Regions from separate parts of the Homo sapiens genome. Here region 1 is linked to region 2. Evidence: promoter capture Hi-C in 16 types of primary human blood cells and fetal thymus (Javierre and others, 2016). All regions are on one chromosome and are shown on one strand. Each heading gives the region's core, a stretch centred on a gene start or on the middle of the fragment in contact. The rest is flanking DNA. Distances are from core to core; before and after follow the strand shown. Region 1 overlaps RIMKLB (ribosomal modification protein rimK like family member B). Region 2 holds the start of PHC1 (polyhomeotic homolog 1).

The links. Contacts are between HindIII fragments. The CHiCAGO score rates a contact against its expected background, and 5 or more counts as called.
Region 1: a contact is called between a fragment that was not itself captured here and the fragment with the promoter of PHC1 in region 2, in 4 of 17 cell types (naive CD4 T cells, non-activated CD4 T cells, naive B cells and 1 more). The highest score is 5.4, in naive CD4 T cells.

Annotation. Positions count from the first base shown.
Region 1 is chr12:8,709,544-8,714,492 of GRCh38, reverse strand. RIMKLB (ribosomal modification protein rimK like family member B) reads right to left here. Exons shown (of 6, transcript NM_001297776.2): 2 at 452-682. The coding sequence starts at 626. Among named protein-coding and RNA genes, the nearest start is that of RIMKLB, 14 kb to the right of the region's middle. The HindIII fragment of the contact is 4,798 bases long and covers 1,223-4,949 here.
Region 2 is chr12:8,911,346-8,916,022 of GRCh38, reverse strand. PHC1 (polyhomeotic homolog 1) reads right to left here and starts at 1,514. Exons shown (of 15, transcript NM_004426.3): 1 at 1,196-1,514. RefSeq lists silencers at 1,063-1,352, 1,423-1,472, 1,523-1,632 and an enhancer at 3,829-4,381. The HindIII fragment of the contact is 8,234 bases long and covers 1-2,436 here.

The sequences.
Region 1 (4,949 bases), core at 2,372-4,871, 200 kb after region 2:
AAGAACCTCCAAAGATACAAATTTCCTTAGCAGCACCTTATAAACAAGGTATTTTAAAAATAGAAGACAGTAAAAATGAAAGGAACTTGAGAATCATCTTTACTTTTATTTTTAAGAAACTGTGTCTTACAATGTTGCCCAGGCTGGACTCGAACTTGTGGGTTCAAGTGATCCTCCCACCTTAGCCTCTGGAACTACAGATATGCGCCTACTTTGTTTTATTGTTTATCTGTTTTGAAGGTCACCTTTAATTTCCCTCACAACTGTTTCCTAATAAAGTTAATAAATATTAGTGTTTATATTACTTTCATAAAATATATTAGACCTTATAATTAGAAGATACTTAGTAATGACAAGGCTAAGAATTCCTCTGTCCTAATTATTCCTAAAACATGCAGATTCATCATATTCTAGGTAAAAATCCAAAAGATCACTTAGTATACAGACTTACCCAGGTTTCCTTGCTCGATTGTCAGCACCACCTCATCCATCACCACAGCCCTAAAGTCCAGTTCCTCCTCACAACATTTGGCCTTCAATGCTCGTAAAATCTCTTTTTGAGGATAGTCTTCCCTGATGCGACGATCTGTCAAAAACCACAACTTGGCAGCCACAGAACTACACATCTTGATCAGCTTGTGCTTCCTTGCCTGGATTATTTCCTCTTGGATGTAACGTCTACCTAGATGGAAGAAAAAATATACATAAAAGGTAAATCAAGAAATCTACTTGATTTCTGGATTTCATACAAATAAATGCCGTGATTATATACTAATTATATAAACAGGAAAAAACACGTGTAGAGATATTGTTTCCTTTTCATTCAAACTAAAATTTTTATACACTAGTAATATGGAAACTGACCACCTCTTCAGAAATATGATTTCTCCATTTTTCCTTGGGGAAACTGGCACTGCAACTTAATAACTGTAGCTCGTCACTTAGCAGAAAGTTTAAATACCCTTCCCAATATTATATATTGTCTAGGAATATACTTTAATCTGATCACTGACTTTTTGTTTTATCTCCTCCCTCAACATTCTGTTCTTGATATGAAATGAAATGCCAATCAATATATTTCCATCTTTCCCATCACTAGAAACCCCGCTTAAGTATATTTTTGTATCTGTGGTTAATTTTACATTCAATTTTCTTCCCTGGTTTTGTTATAGGTATGTAGAAAAAAAAAATAGGTAGTAGCACTTATCTTACTAGGTAAGCTTCAATGATGAAGTCATTTACACAGTAGCTTTAGTGAAAATAAATAATTGGAGAATGAGCAAAAGGGCTCTCAATAACCAAAATAAATGTCCAGGTCTATTCACTAAATTTCATTTATTCCAGTCAGAGGACAGCACGCTCTTACTCAATGTTTTTATTCTTCCTATAAATAGAATTTTTAAAAATAAATGCAGCTTGTTTACTAAAATGCAAAAAAGGACTTTTTTTCCAGATGGTGTTGCTTCTCTGAGTTTGTATCATGAACAATGCAACATTAAAAAATCACCTTCCTGAGAAGCAAAAAAGTTACAAGTTTCAGAACAAGCAACAAAACGATTTTTTTTAATGTTTACCAAAAAAACAAAATGTCAAGTATCATTCAAGTATTATTCCAGATAACATGGCACATCTAACACAAAAGGAAAGGTCCTGGGCAAAAACTACAGGAAGGAAAGGCTGTACAGACCAGCAGCTTCCTGAATAGTGGCAGCTGGACATGGTCCACCCTCCCAGGTACCAGCAAGAAGGGCCTGCTCCACAGTGCACACGGTTTGAAACCAGAGCATTGCTGGGCAGAGGCCCCATCAGAGCCAACAGCACACATTCCCAAGCACCTTGAAATGCCATGTCTGCCACACTTGACCACCTACCTCTCTCTTGACCCACCTACTACCCCACAATCCACTGCCTCAAAGGCCTAAGTCTCTGTTAAACAAGCAGGGTATCTAAACTGGATTATGGTAGTAACTCAGCTTACACACATGCTAGGAAGGAACTATGCTAACTTAATGTCGGATGCTCTAGGGTTAGCAGTTCTGAATATTTAATAACTTTTTATTTTTATTTATTTATTTATTTTGAGATAGAGTTTCACTCTTGTCACCCAGGCTGGAGGGCAATGGTGTGATCTAGGCTTGCTGGAACCTCCGCTTCCCGGGTTCAAGTGATTATCCTGCCTCAGCCTCCCAAGTAGCATGTGCCACCATACCTAGCTAATTTCTTCCAGAAGGCGGAAAGGTTGCAGTGAGCCGAGATCACGCTATTGCACTCCAGCCTGGGCAACAAGAGAGAAATTCCGTCTCACGCGCACAAAAAAGAAGATAAGGACCAGGCTCATTAAAATGAAAAATATATAAACACTATGGCTTCCCTACAGCAGGATATTCCATGCATATTACAGGCAGTAAACCTTATCCTCCCTCCTCCTTAAACAGAGTGTTTCTGATAAACTTTTTCTCCTATGAAACTTTTCTTGAAAAGAGATTTCCATTTTAACCACAGTATGGGAAAGGTACAGTGCAAACCTGCACTGTCAATTCAACCTGATGGAACGACTTTTTTTATGGGTTGCATTTCGGTCTCTTCCCTGCGGACAATCATAGGGAAGGCCACAGTGTGTCCCTGACCAGACGCTGTACCCAAAGACATACTATGCTCATTAGAAAAAAGTTATAGCCACACAGTGCCTTCCAGGCCACTTGGGAAGGTCTCAGAAAGCAAAGCTCCACAAAAGAAAAAGTCACGCCAGAATACCTGACGTAGAATATCCCCAGCTCCCCTTGATGAAGGAATTGTAAAAATGCCCTTAAAATGTTTGGGGGAGGGGGGAGGGATAGCATTGGGAGATATACCTAATGCTAGATGATGAGTTAGTGGGTGCAGCGCACCAGCATGTCACATGTATACATATGTAACTAACCTGCACATTGTGCACATGTACCCTAAAACTTATAATAATAAAAAAAAAAAGTTTGTAATCAGTAGTGATTAAAAGACTCTGTCACTGACTTCCAACACTCTGAAGCTATGTCCGTGCCTTGGCCTGACACTCGGCTCTTGAAACTCATCCGTTTGCAGATGATTTTTTTTTTCTTTCTGAGACATGGTTTCAGTCACCCAGGCTGGAGTGCAGTGGTGCAATCATAGCCCATTGCAGCCTCAAACTCCTCGGCCTAAGTGATCCACCTGTCTCCTCTGCCTCCCAAGTAGCTGAGATGACAGGAGCAAATCACATCAGGCTAATTTTTTTTTTTTCCTTGAGATGGAGTCTTGCTCTGCCACCCAGGCTGGAGTGCAGTGGCGCAACCTTGGCTCACTGCAACTTCTGTCTCCTGGGTTCAAGCAATTCTCCTGCCTCAGCCTCCTGAGTAGCTGGGATTACAGATGCCCACCACCATGCCCAGCTAATTTTCGTACTTTTCTCTTTTTAGTAGATATGGGGTTTTGCCATGTTGCCCAAAATGATGGAATTATAGGCGTGAGCCAACAGGCCCGGTCTCTAATTTTTTTTTTTTTTTTTTTTTTTTGGTAAAGATGTGGTCTCACTACGTTGCCCAGACTGATCTCAAACTCCTGGCCTCAACCAATCCTCCCACTTTGGCCTCCCAAAGTGCTGGGGTTATGGCTGTGAGCCACCATGCCTTGCCAATCAATGATTAATTTCATTGCACAGTGGGTCTTCACCTGAGTGTGGCAGTTGCTGCCCCAATAGCAGTCAGGATGGAATGTTATAGTCACTAGCAATTGGGAAGCAGAAATGTTCCGCTGCTGATACATCAGTAGTCAGAAATTACATGGGCTACAACAGTGTTCCCGATGATTCTGAAATCAGAAAATAATATTCCCCTCTGAAGAGCCACAAAGCCTTCAGTCAACATGTTTTTCTAGGCCAGGCATGATGGCTCCTGCCTGTAATCCCAGAACTTTGGAAGGCCAAGGTGGGCGGATCACTTGGTCAGGAGTTTGAGACCAGCCTGGCCAATATGGCAAAACCCTGTCTTTACTAAAAATACAAAAATGAGCCAGGTGTGGCAGTACATGCCTGTAATCCCAGCTACTCGGGAGGCTGAGGCAGGATAATCGCTTGAACCCAGGAGGCGGAGGTTGTAGTGAGTGGAGATCGTGCCACTGCTCTCCAGCCTGGGTGACAGAGCGAAACTCCATCAAAAAAAAAAAAAAAAAAAAGAAGGAAACAAACAAACAAACAAACAAAACTGGCGGGGAGCGGTAGTTCATTTTGGGAGGCTGAGGTGGGCAGATCACTTGAGGTCAGGAGTTCAAGACCAGCCTGGCTGACATGATTAAGACTCCATCTCTACTAAAAATACAAAAAAAAAAAATAGCCGGGTGTGTTGGTGCATGCTTGTAAACCCAGCTACTCAGGTGGCGGAGGCAGGAGAATCACTTGAATCTGGGAAGTCGAAACTGCAGTGACCCCAGATGATGCCACTGGACTCCAGCCTGGAAAACAGCAAGACTCCATCTCAAAACAAAACAAAACAAAAACCACATTTTTCTACATTAAATCTCTGATTACCAGGTACAGTAGTCCCTCCATATCCACAAGGGATAATTCCAAGACCCCCAGTGGATGCCTGAAACTGCAGATAGTACATATACTATGTTTTTTCCTAAACATACATATCTATGATAATTTGCATATTAGGCACAGTAAGATGTTAGCAATAAAATAGAACAATTATAACAATATACTATGATAAAAGTTATATGAATGCGGTGTCTCTCCCACTCTCAAAATATCCTGTTGTACTGTGTCAGGGCGTAACTGAAACCACAGAAAGTGAAACCAGGGAAAGTGAAACCTGTCCAGTGGTACACTGCCATTCCCACAGGAGGACATGCGGCTAGCCTTCCTCGGTGCCCAAGCGATGGGGCCTCCCCAAGGGCTGCTGCAGCAACAGCTGCTTGCCTTCTTAGGGGTGCTCCAA
Region 2 (4,677 bases), core at 265-2,764:
TTAGAGGCAGCACGGCACAGTTTTATAGATTACTGGATTTAGTTCACTGGACTCAGAGACACGAGACCCCTTTGCTAGGTATAGAGAACATAATTCCTACATTCACATGTGAAAATACAAACCGTATGACCCCTCGTCTTCCCAAACCTGAATTCTGATTAATAATTTTTTTTGGATTGTGAACTAGAAATAAAAATGTAAAGGGACCAACTTAAAAGTCTCAATAAAATCAAGGGAAACTGCCACCAAAACCAGGATTCCTGGATCCCGGGCACATAAATGTATTCATTTGTGATCAACATTATGACTACAAGATTAAATATAAAAAATGGAGACAACAAACAGTTTGGGCAGCACCAGGTATCAAAATTTTCCAAATTAAACTGGAAGACAGTGAGAAGCTGATCCACAGATGCCCCCAGAGTAGCTAAGCCATGGTCATCTTAAAAGGTAGCATGTGGGCATACATGGGGTTGGGTAGGCGCACAGACCTACCGAAGGGAGTTAGAATGGGACATTGAGGTGGACTTAGCATTGGGCCGAGAGTTGGAGAAAGTCAATATCCCTAAGCACGAAACTCTTATCATGCAGAAAGGATGGGACATAGGAAGGGGGACGGGAGAAGGGGGTGGTTCAGGGAAGACTGTGCCAAAGACACGGTAATAATCAAGAGAACAGGGAGTAGACGCCCAAGGGTCCTCGTTCTATATAGAACCTTGATGAAAATGATGTTTCAAAGAGAAATCAAATACACTGGGGGAAGGGGGTGGATCCAGTGGTGCGCCGGGAATGAACTGACCCAAGTGAGCTGGGACATGTGCATACAGAGAGCAGAGGCAGAAGTCAAGGAACTGGAGGCTGAGGAACCCAGCGGACCACGAAAGCAGGGAGATAACTAGACAGCATGCTCGGCTGGAAGGACCAAAGTCAGAGAAGGAAAAATGAATAAGAAAATGAGCAGTCAGAGGCAGCTAGGGTGACGGACAGACAGCATGAAGCGCAGCAGAATGAATAGCCAGAAGACTCGGACAGGCAGAGCCGAAGGACCGCAGAGCTCAGCGCCGGAGGTAGGCAGGGAAAGCAACTGGGGGAGGTACCTGGGGCGTTACACAGATGGAGGTGGCTGAGGATACATCCCCGCGCAGCCAAGCCCCCAGAGGTCCTGCCCCTCCCCGGCCCTCGGTCGCCCGGTTACCTTCTCGCCTGGCTGTGCACCCAAGTCTTCCCCGGGGGCGTCCACCTCATGTGCCGGGGTCCCCAGTCGCCAGGCTGGGCTGGGGGCTCGCTCGGCCTCCGCGGCGGGCTCCCCTCGCCTCCTCCCCTTCCTGGAGGGGCGGGGGCGCCGAGGGCGGGGTGGGAGGCGCCCGGCGCGACCGCGGCTCCCCGCCCCTCCCGCCGCTCCGGGTGCGGGCCCGGCCGCGGCTCAGCCAGGCCTCCGGGGCTCGCTCCGGGCCTGTCACTTCCTGCCCGGCCGAGAAGGTGGGGGCCGCAGGCCAGGGGCTGCGGGCCGGGCTGGAGGAGGGGGCTGCGGGGAGGTGCTTCCGGGGCAGCCGGACCCCCCCCCCGCCGTCCCTCCGCCTCCCCTCGGCGCCCTCCGCCCCCTCCCTCCCGCGCGTCCCTCGTTTCCTGCCGGCGCCCGTTGCCATGGCGACGCAGCTCCCGGGCCTCTGCGCTCCAGGCCCAGGGGTTTTTTCCTCTCTTGCTCTCTTTCTCCTCTTTTTTACCCCCTTCTTTCTCTCCGAGTTCTGCTCGCCGGTTGGAAGGACGAAACTAAGAAAGTGCTGGCCTCTAGTGGGGAACGCACCTCTCGGAGAGGAGAGGGAGATGGGAGAAGGGAGGGAAGTGACGTGAGACGGGGAGAAAGAAGGTATTTTCTGGAGCTGCTGGGAATAAGGGGTAGAAAGAAAGGATCAAAGGGACCAACAGACAGAGAGGGAGAAAGAGCAAAGCAACGACCCCTAGAGAAACGATAGACTGGGAAAAGAAATGAAGCAAAGGAAAGGAAGGAAAAGGCGAGAAAAACTTTGAGAATGAGAGAAAGGAGAGAGAAGGTTGATTGTTTAATCCCTCACCTCAACTCCAAGAAGGCGGGAAAGAATGCTGCAGAAACAGCTAACCCATTAGGAGTTGACTTCATTTTCAAAGCAGCAACCTAATGTAACTTCCTTTGGATAGCATTTAAGTTTGTCATTTCAGGGATTTGTGTGTGCTTCGATTTCAATATGTATATGAGTTCGAATGACAAAAACGGGAAAAGGCCAGAGTATAACGAGATGTAGAACAATGGGGCTGTCTCTGGGAACACTAAACATTTGATAGGGGAGCCGTTGTCGTTGTATTTATGATATCAACTTACCGGTTTTTAATTACTCTCTCATCGTTCAACATTCAATAAATATTTATAGAGCGTCTACTATGTGCTAAACCGTGGAAGCTTGGATTGCATCAGTGCACGAAACAAAGATAACTGCCTTACTGCCTTCATTAACCTTTACAGAAGGGTCTGGGGGATGCCTCGTGGATTAACAACTGGGATTGATGCCTTTTCTCTTGCTCTCAGTCTTTTCCTAACCTCTATCCTAAACAGTTATTTTCTCTGTCAATCCACTCTTCCTTTTCTCCTTTAAAAGCCCATGCATGGTTTGTTTATAGAGAAAAAAACAGAAGTGTTATCTTTGCTTATAAATTATATCCATTTAGATTTTGCTTTGAGAGAGGAGTATTTGGACTCCAAGGTCTTTCATTTGTGGCAGCCAGATTAAAATCGGAGAACAATTTCTGCCAGGCTTCTAGGAACTAGTCAGACAGGTATGTGAGGGAAGAAACCGGAGGGCAGCCAAAGGACTGGAAAAGCGAAGACACGGGGTATGAGGAGGTGAAAGGGTGTGTTACCAGGCCGTGGATGACAGGCACTGGCTGAGGATGATTTGAAAAGATTCTGACTGGTAGAACTAGTGGTGAAAACGAGGTAAAGCATTCGTTGTTTAATTCACACCTGGATTTTTGGCATGTCAAAGCAGTTAAAGCTTTCTTGCAGAAGTTTAGAAATGGATATCGATTGAGCCTAGGCGGAATTTTCTAGCACCAATGGAAAAAAAAAGCATCTATAGATAATTTTCAGATTATACAACATTAAAGTTAAGAAACATGACTCATGTGCTTCCTTAGTTTCCCTGGGAGAATTATCACTGTTAAGTGTCTAAAGAAGATTTGTAAGCTATAACAAGAATAAGGAATGCAGATATCAGAGGGTATGGACTTGTTTTTCTATAGCCTATGGAACTTGTGTACCAAGAGGGTACATGACCATATCGCATTTCACCCTCCTTACAAATGGAGCAGAATTACCGCTACTGCATATAGTTACATTCCACCCCTAAAGATTTTTTTTTTTTATTTACTAGGTCACCGGCTCCTATAGCTACTAGATAATGTTAGGGGATAAGCGATGAATACTTTTGTTGAGTGCCTGTTATAAATTTAGCCTGAGAATAATCTATCATGAGGCGAGCTATACTGATTATGGGCCAGTAGTTTAATTTTTATATGTAAAGGTGTGTGCTCCATATATCACAGGATTCTTTTCAAGTTCATTTTTCTCCAAGTCAGGCCAGTGTTCTAAGGTCATAGGTCTAAACAGTTCCCACCAAAAAAGATTTAGTATAAAAAAGAAATATATCAACAGCAAAGTAAAGTTATAGGAAAGCCTCCATCCATAAGAAAATCATTTTCATAGACTAAATCAGCTTGAGAGCAGGCATTGAAGAACTTATCTCGGTCTAAACAGCAAAACAATCTGTGTTCCCTAGAGAATACTCAACTTTTTTTTCTTAATTTTTCTAAAGTTTCTCATTTTCATTTAATGACTCTGCTTGAATTAGACTTTTCTTTTTCAAACAAAATGGTTCTTCTGAATGGAGGCTACAGAATGTCTTTACTCTGCATAACACTGAAGGCCATTAGCCTAAACAGGTGAGAAGGAAAAGCATTTAATCCGGTGTATGGAAATGGAAGCCCTCCTGCAAACTTCTCTAAATAAGGAAGGATCCTGGTTTGAAAGGCTGTCGATGTTTGGCAGCAACTGAAGCAAATAGACTAGAAGTTAAGCTAATAGAACTTTTCATATCAACTGAACATTGCTTAAGCATTCCTCAAGCTTCTCCTGTAAACCTAGCATTCTGCAATAAATTGTGAAGGAAGAGATGTCCTTTACCCTAAAGGTGTTAGTATCTTTGGAATGTGTCTTTCTACAAGTAATCAAGTAAGAATGTGTGACCATGTTTTTATGCAAATATGGATAGGAAGAAGTAGAGAAAAAAGGAAATCATAACCTTTACTCTCCCCACCACCAACTGTGGCTGTGAACCACCATACACAGCCCACCTGTGTCTCACTATAATTCTGCATGCCACTTTAAGGTCTAGTTGGGAGAAAATGAAGATTGAGTGGATTTATAGGCTCTTAGATATTTAAAGGAAAAAAAAAGAACTTTAAAACTAAGCCCCTCAGTTTTCAGTGAAGACAATTGAAGTCTAAATGATAAATGTAGAAGAGGGATATTTCGTAATCCCTGGAAAATAGAAAATGTCCAATAAATATTAGTTAACTGAATTAATTTCCTAGATTCTTGCCCTTCTCTCATAGGAAAAGAATATGAAATTAAAAGATATAAAGGAT